3 separate regions of the Homo sapiens genome follow, and all the other regions are linked to region 1. Evidence: promoter capture Hi-C in 16 types of primary human blood cells and fetal thymus (Javierre and others, 2016). All regions are on one chromosome and are shown on one strand. Each heading gives the region's core, a stretch centred on a gene start or on the middle of the fragment in contact. The rest is flanking DNA. Distances are from core to core; before and after follow the strand shown. Region 1 holds the start of MPP7 (MAGUK p55 scaffold protein 7). Region 2 overlaps APBB1IP (amyloid beta precursor protein binding family B member 1 interacting protein). Region 3 overlaps APBB1IP (amyloid beta precursor protein binding family B member 1 interacting protein).

Evidence for each region. The method cuts DNA at HindIII sites, captures the fragments that hold promoters and counts their contacts. A CHiCAGO score of 5 or more calls a contact.
Region 2: a contact is called between a fragment that was not itself captured here and the fragment with the promoter of MPP7 in region 1, in 1 of 17 cell types (fetal thymus). The highest score is 5.4, in fetal thymus.
Region 3: a fragment that was not itself captured here is called in contact with the fragment with the promoter of MPP7 in region 1 in 1 of 17 cell types (non-activated CD4 T cells); the score reaches 6.5 in non-activated CD4 T cells.

Annotation. Positions count from the first base shown.
Region 1 is chr10:28,301,769-28,304,445 of GRCh38, forward strand. MPP7 (MAGUK p55 scaffold protein 7) reads right to left here and starts at 1,296. Exons shown (of 17, transcript NM_001318170.2): 1 at 1,093-1,296. MPP7-DT (MPP7 divergent transcript) reads left to right here and starts at 1,401. Exons shown (of 2, transcript XR_930772.3): 1 at 1,401-2,661. RefSeq lists a silencer at 843-1,482. The HindIII fragment of the contact is 2,637 bases long and covers 1-2,214 here.
Region 2 is chr10:26,440,676-26,443,352 of GRCh38, forward strand. The region is part of intron 2 of APBB1IP (amyloid beta precursor protein binding family B member 1 interacting protein); the gene reads left to right. Among named protein-coding and RNA genes, the nearest start is that of APBB1IP, 3.7 kb to the left of the region's middle. The HindIII fragment of the contact is 1,660 bases long and covers 516-2,175 here.
Region 3 is chr10:26,480,649-26,483,325 of GRCh38, forward strand. All of the region lies in intron 2 of APBB1IP (amyloid beta precursor protein binding family B member 1 interacting protein), which reads left to right. Among named protein-coding and RNA genes, the nearest start is that of APBB1IP, 44 kb to the left of the region's middle. The HindIII fragment of the contact is 1,273 bases long and covers 662-1,934 here.

The sequences.
Region 1 (2,677 bases), core at 46-2,545:
TGGAAATACTGTTTTTATAGAACCAGAGTGAACCTGAGCATAGAAAACTCTCCAAGGGCCATCGCTGTGACATTACCGCTAAAACTCAGTGACCTTCATCAATTCACTTGTAAACAAGCAATATATTGAGCAAGTCAAAGGAAAGGCAGCAACAATTCAAGATACTTCTTTATAAGTAAATCAAATTACGTAATTAATAGCCCAGGATTTACCTGCAAACTATTACTGCCTGACTAGCAGGTGCATCCCCAAAGCCTCGAGTACAGAGACTGTTTTTAGAGAGCCCCCCCTTTTTTAAATGTGAATATTGCTTTTAAAAATTAGAAAAAGAAAAAAATCACAATTCTACTCCCACCCATGGCACAGTGACAGAAACAAGGTCCCACCCCCACAATCCTTTCAAACCTGCACAGGCATTCCTCACGAACACTCCTCCCCCTCATTCCTACCTCACCGCTCCCCACTTCAGCCCAGACAAAGCTGAGTTACTCGGCTGGGTCTACCTGTCACTTAAGAAAAAGCCCCCAAATAGATTCACGCTAAATGCTGCTTTTAATTTTTTAAATAGCAAATAAGTAAATAAATAATGCTATCGTGTAGATTACACGGCCAAACGCCTGTTCTCAGAAAACATGTAATTAACACGACCCAAGTGAAGACGCCTTTCTGGCTTAGGGAAAGAAAAAAAAGAAGCCAGCCAGCTTATCGCTCCCTTTCAGTCGGTTCTTTTCCCCGGGGAGCCGGACTCTGACTCAACTCCGCAGTTTTTCCTCCACCTGTCGGTTCTCCCCGCTCTGGGTCTGCCCCGCCGCCGCCCCCGCCCGGAGTCCCGCGCGTCAACAGGGGTCTCCAGGGGTCCTCAGGGTCCCGCCCGAGGCGGCCCCGCCCCTGCCCCGGCCCCGCCCCCACCTCCTCACAAGGTGCCCGCCGCGGGCTCCCAGGCTGAGGCGCCTAGAGGCCGGCAGGAGGCTCCGGAGGACCGCGGCACCGCTCGGCCCGGTCGCCGGCGCAGGGAGCAGCTTCGGGGGCCGACCCCACCGCCCGAGCCTAGCCCTGGGCTCCGACAGGCGCTCCCCAGAGGCGCCCCATTACCTGCTCTGGGCTGCCGCGGTCCGCGGGCAGGAGGCGCACTCGCTCTGGCCCCTGCAGCCCCGGGCCCGGAGGCAAGGAGGCAGCGACCGCCACCGCCGCAGAGGACAATCGGGAGCCAGCGGGCTCGGCACCGCCGCGGCGGGCGCAGAACGCACGAGCCCAGTGGGAGCCCGGCCCCCGCCTCCAGCCCGGCTAGTAACCAACACGGCCCCCACCCTCGGAGGGGCGGGACCGCGGTTGGAGGGGCGGGGCGGGGCTGCACCGCCCGCGGGTAAGAGGGGCCTGCTGATAGGCTGCGAAGGCGATAGGCGTCTCAGACTTGAAGACGCCTCTCCAGCAGAACTCCCTCATTGGTCGGCAAGAGAAAACAAAGCTGGGCTCTGATTGGTGACAGCTCTGTAGCTCCTCCTCATACCCGCAGTCCCCGCAAGTTCCACCCCTGCCCGCCCGGTTCGCTCGCCCTTGGTTCCCACTCCCAGGTGGCTGCAGACTGGAGTGTGTTTCATGGACGAGCAACCTCCCTGAGGAGAACCCCGGATACGCAGGTTCATTCGCCAGATGCGAGTTTTCTTAAGCCGCTGCGATTCTCTGATTTCAGTATGAACTTGGTGAATAACGTAATCTTTAACTTCCTTTGGATTCAGACAAGTCTCCTAGGTTTAAAAATGCTGCATAAGATTGAGAGGGATATTGTTATGCACGAAAAAAGACATAAGGTGTTTTCACCTTTGGCGACACTGTAGGTGACTTTTTCTTATTACCTTTTTGTGTTCCATATTGAACATGTACTACATGATTAGAAAAAAAAATTCTTAAATAGAAAAATGAGTAGGGTGCGGAGAATGGTAAAGACAAACTTTAAGGAAATCCAGAGAACTGATTCTTTCACAATAGAAGAAAATACAGTAAACATGCTTAATATCTGAGGGCTACCCCGAAAAAACATGAACTGGTATCAGCGCCCTTCAGCTCTCTTAAAGAACTTTACATATGTGACCGAGGTGCCCCCATACTCCTTCCTATCATGTAACCAACACATAATGTGGACAGCACTACACTGCAAACAGAATTACAGGAAGACTCTTATAGGAAGAATTAGAATCCAAAGTACACAATCAATAAAGCTTTAGAAAAAGGGGTAGTAAAAAGCAGAAGACAAAAAAAAATCAGGTAATATAAATTGGAAAGCTCAGCTGATGGAGGGAATCATCAGAAAAAAAATAATGTGACAACACTTCAAGATGTGATAGAGACTTTGAATGGAAAGCTGAAGGGAGAGGAAGGGGATTGAGATAAGGATCAATGACCTGCAGTTAATATGAGCTCTCAGAACACATCCCCCAGAACTGGTGTCAGCCTAGAAGGCAAGAAGCATTTCTCACCTAGGGACCACTCTCACTTAACTCTCTCTAGCTGCCTTAACATTCTGTTTGTTCTTGTCATTCTCGCAAAGTTCTAAAACAGGCTATTTGAAATTAAGCACTTCCCCCCAGCAACTCCGTGAATTACGTAATAGTGAAAAATGGAGATAGACAAAAAGCAAACCTGAGGAAGGAAAGGAATGTTAAGGTAAACATAAACTTAA
Region 2 (2,677 bases), core at 96-2,595, 1.9 Mb before region 1:
AGGTTTTATAGTATTTATTACATTTTTTGTATTTTTATATCCTAAGAATGTTCACCAGTTATCCACTATTGATTTGCCTTTTTTCACTCATCAATCAAAGTTTTAAATAGTTCCATATTATTATTAGAATGAGCTACTTATAAAGTTCATTGCCATAAATGTCTGTTTGATATGTCACTTTGAATTTTCTTTAAGCCATCTTACTTCCAAAGAGCATTATTATTTTCATTTTCTTCTAATTCTCTTCAATTTTATTTTAATTATTTTTATGCCTAAAACATTTTAGTGAGTCCACAAATCTTATAATAAATTGTCTGCGTTCCATAGCCTATTGGACCACAATCTTTACAATTTTATAGGACCCCATGAGTTTATATTATGGAGACTACGGTGATCTTAGGAATGCTTGCCTCAAAACAGAACAATTTTTATTAACACAACAGGTATCTTCTCAGTATGAAAATGAATGTGTGTGTTTTATGTCACTGCTGTCATCTAAGAGGCAAGTCACTTAAAGCTTAAGCATTTATTATAAATTCATGTACATAATAAATGCCAGATTTTAAAGTGTAAGATTTCTACACTGGTTGCATGGGGATTTTAAAATACATATTACACTTTTAATTATCGTGAGAAACATGACTTTTAGAGAAAACTGCTAGATATCTGGAACAGTAATCATTAGATTTCTCTTGAAAAGAGAGAACTAGCCGCATGAAGGAATGCCATTACACCTATACCCAGTTAAAGAGACTAGATTGTACCTGCAGCTTGGAAGGGCAGACCCTGAGGACAGCTTTTGGGGGACTAGAGGATGTGACCTGCCACCACTGCATCATCATTTCCTAGCCAATTTGTGATCCCAAAATGAGGACTCCAAAGAGGCTGGCTAAATGTGCAGAATATATTAATCTCACTGAGTGGTACCATGGAAATATCACAAGCCCCTGAGATCCCGTTGGCTCCACTGGTCCCAAACCTCAGGCATGAGCAAGCAGAGAGGTGACACCACTCCAAGGCATCACACGTTCTCATTATTCCACATATTCTGGAGCTTGATTCCGTGACTCAGTTTTAAAACATTTCCTGAGCGTTGACCATGAACTTGAATAATTAAGAATCATAAGAGCTATTTTCTTTCTTCTCTGTCAACTCAGTTTTCTCTTTGATCATCACATAGTAATAGCAAATAATAATTATTATAATGTTTACTTATAAATACTACCAGGCCCTGTACTAATTTAGATGTGTCATCTTGTTAATCATCACATCAAGATGAAAGCACAGAGAGGGTAAGAAACTTACGCAGGAAGTAAGAAACAGAGCTGTTGTTTGAACTGGGCCATCTGATGGTGGCACCCATGAAAAAACCTGGGGCCTTTCCACAATGAGTTTATAGTCTAGAAGAGGAGATGTAACTAGATGTAAGAGGAGATGTAGAATTCCATGCGGAACCAGAGTTGAGTGCTGTGGGACTACATATCAGGGTCCCTGGTCTCCCCAACCAGGGTCACGGGAGAAGGTTGAATAGAAGGAAACCAAGCAAAGAACTTATCGTGTTATCATGGGAAGACAAGTTAATATAATCAACTTTGAAGTTATTATCTTTACGTGTGCCTTGAAAAAAGAATCTGCTTTGTTAGCAATCGTGTGTTTTCATTTTTGTGTTTATTTTATTCTAATCCCACATGACAGCCGGCTAGGTTGATTAAATCAACAAGCAAGCAGTGAGTTTAATATTTTTTCTAATTCTGTTGGGGATCTTTTTGATTTAGTTTCATGTTACAGACTCATCAGTGAGATGGTTGTGGGCTGGGATGGGGGATAAAAGCTAAATCACACAGCAACTGTGTTTCCCCAAACCGACTGGAGGGTTTGCATCCAGAGAGCTACATCACATCAAACTGGAGAGAAACAAAAAATGATATTAGAGCAAGTGAATCATGACTAGATTCATTTCTTCCTTCATGTTTTATTATGAAATGTTTCATATCTACAAAAGATGATGTATATATGTAAATAACAACAAATAATAATAAAGCCAACATCTGGGTACCTATCACCCAGCTTAAGAAGTAGAATATTTACCAAGACATTTCCTGGTCTCCTTCCAATAACATTTCCCCATTTCCCAGCTAGAGGTAATCATTATTCTGAATGTGCTAATTTTTAAAAAGCTTTTAGGAAGCATGTACATACATTTGTAAAGGATGGTGTCAAACTGGGGATCAAAGAACACTGGCATGGCAGACTGGAGTCAGGTTCTCCACCGACTCTGGGTGGTCACAAGCAGCTTGTGCTGTTCAGTAAAGACAGCTTACTTTAATTGAATAGCATAAAAACAACATGTATTAGAAATAGTTAATAGTAAGTACCACGGAAATTGTGCTATCTTAGACATTGATAAAGTGACCAAGAATCATCAGTAAAGAACTATGAGTTTTAAGTGGAATAAAGAATATGTGGCCGGGCGTGGTGGCTCACACTGGTAACCCCAGCACTTTGGGAGGCTGAGGCAGGAGGATCACTTGAGGTCAGGAGTTCAAGACCAGCCTGACCAACATGGTGAAACACTGTCTTTACTAAAAATACAAAAAAATTAGCCTGGCATGGTGGTGCATGCCTGTAATCCCAGCCACTCGGGAGGCTGAGGCAGGAGAATCGCTTGAACCCAGGA
Region 3 (2,677 bases), core at 48-2,547, 1.8 Mb before region 1:
TAAACATGGGATTTCCCCATGTTGCCCAGGCTGGTCTCTAACTCCTGGGCTCAAGTGATCTGCCTACCTCGACCTCCCAAAGTGCTGGGATTACAGGCATGAGCCACCATACACCACAGATTGTTGGTAATCTTGGCACACAGTTTGGTGACATAGTGCAAACAAAAGTCCAGTTGAGATAGATTCATGAGAAAATAAAGACAAGTAGGGGACAGTGAATTGACCTAACTATTCACAGGACTTTTGTTTCTAAAAAGAAATGTTCATGATTTTTATTTATTAATACAACATGATAAACAGAGTATTTTCTATTTGTATCTCTTCAAAAAATTCTAAATTGCATTGTCCCTCTGGTTTTAGGTCACAGTAGGTCCTAAATACAAAAGCAGTTCCCCATTCCTTATATAGACACCCAAAGTAGAAAAAAAAAGGGAACTTAAAATAATCTAGAGACTTGGCACTCTCTTTCCAACCCGTGGGCATCCAAGTGAAACTAGTCTACAACTTGTCTCCCAGAGCTGGAGGCCAGACAGACAGATGGAAGTGGGGATGTTGGGTTCATATGTGCTGACCTCTGTTGTCCTGTGTCAAGTGTTCTTGCACTTGAGTCCTGGGGAACATTTTTGGGTGTTGTTCAGTTCTCTCACTTTTTTCTAACTGAAGCTTGACTTAGCAGAGTGTCCCCACCTTGTCCCACCCACTTATTTCCAAATTGCTTTGATTTTATGCAAAACATAAATTTTTCACTAACTTTATGGTTTGCATAAAATCACAGCAATTTGGAAATAAGCACATTTAAAAATTGTATCTTTTATTTTTTGTTTTGTTATTTTTGTTTTTATTTTTTAATTTTAGAGACAGGGTCACACTTTGTCACTCAGGCTAGAGGGCAGTAGTGCTGTCATAGCTCACTGTAGCCATGAGCTCTTGCGCTCAAAGGATTCTCCCACCTCAGCCTCCTGAGTAGCTGAGACCACAGGTGCGCACCACTATGCCCAGCTAATTTTTTTGGCAGAGGGGATAGAGATGGGGTCTTGCTATATTGCCCAGGCTGGTTTTGAACTCCTGGCCTCAAGTGATCCTCCCACCTCTGCCTCCCAAAGTGCTGAATTTCAGGTGTAACCCACCGCACCTGGCCTAAATCATATTTTTTAAAATGTGGTAGCCCATCTCATTACGTGTGTGTGTGTGTGTGTGTGTGTGTGTGTGTGTGTGTGTGTCTTTACTGCAAAATTCTAAGACTTTTCAAAGCACTCTCTTAGTATTTTTTTAAATTACTGAAATAAATCATTTCATTTAATGATTAGTTTTTTATTTAAAATGTTATTTACAGGTAACTTTTGCCATGACAATATTGCTTACAAAAGGACCCTGTTGTCTTGGCTGTCCCTTCTGTGTGACCCTACCTATGTATATACACATGTCCATATGAATTTTGTTTGTGACTCACTGCATATTAGTCTGAATTGATCATATGACCACAGTCATTGTCCTTTTGATTCAGTAACTACTTGCTAGCCTATTAAGATTTTCACCGATCTCAGGGGTACAGTGCAAAGTTGGTTAAGTTGGCCCAAGAGGTTTCTTCACCTTAGTTCTCTGTTGAGTGAATTATTTGATATAATCCGTAACTTTAGAGATGCTTCTGTTTCCTGTTTTACGCTACACAGAAGCCTCGGCTTCCCCTTTCTCCTCCCTCAAACGTTGCAAGAACCTTTAACCATATGCTGTGTTATTCTGTGAACCACTTCCTCTTGATAAAACGCTTTCATTGCATTTTGAAAAAATACAACACTGAAGGAATCAGGTAAAATTCAATATTCTAAGTTATTTTCAATCACACTGTACACAGGTGACTTCACAGTTTCCACCAGCATTTGCGAGCATCCGAATTCTGTAGTGCGTATTTCATCCTAAGGGCAATCCCATTCATAAGCTTTTTAAAATTTTTTTCTCCTCTTTTGTATCTGTAGTTGTAATATGTCTACTGATTTATTTCCTAGAAAAAAATGTTGCCAGATGGTTTCTAATTAAAAAATAATAAAAATATCAAAGCAAATTGATACTTGGAGAGCCTCAGATTTTTGAAACTTATTTCTCATCAATTCCAGTTCTATTTTAGTTTTGGCAATCTAGTAATAAACTCAAAACACTGTAGGGTAAAAAAACAACAGTCCCTGTAACTCCAGCACTTTGGGAGGCTGAGGCGGGCTGATCACCTGAGGTCAGGTGTTTGAGACCAGCCTGGCCAACATGGTGAAACTCTTTCTCAAGTGAAAAAAAAAAAAAAAAATTAGCTGGTCATGGTGGCCGGTGCCTGTAATCCCAGCTACTTGGGAGGCTGAGGCAGGAGAAACTCTTGAACTGGGAGGTGGAGGTTGCAGTGAGCCGAGATCACACCATTGCACTCCAGCCTGGGCAACAAGAGCAAAACTCCATCTGATAAAAAAAAAAAAAAAAAAAAAAAAGCAGTCAATACTAGGATACAAACATTTTTCTTTAACTGTCTTTAACATAGAAAGATGTACAGTATGCAGATAAATTCATTGAAGAGAAGAAATACAGCTGAGGAAAACCCACACAGAAAAATCTTCCAGAAATTTGTTTAAGCCTCCAATCATGTCTGGGATCAATAAATATTTGATGACTGACTTACTTTGTGTAAACTCGATCGATT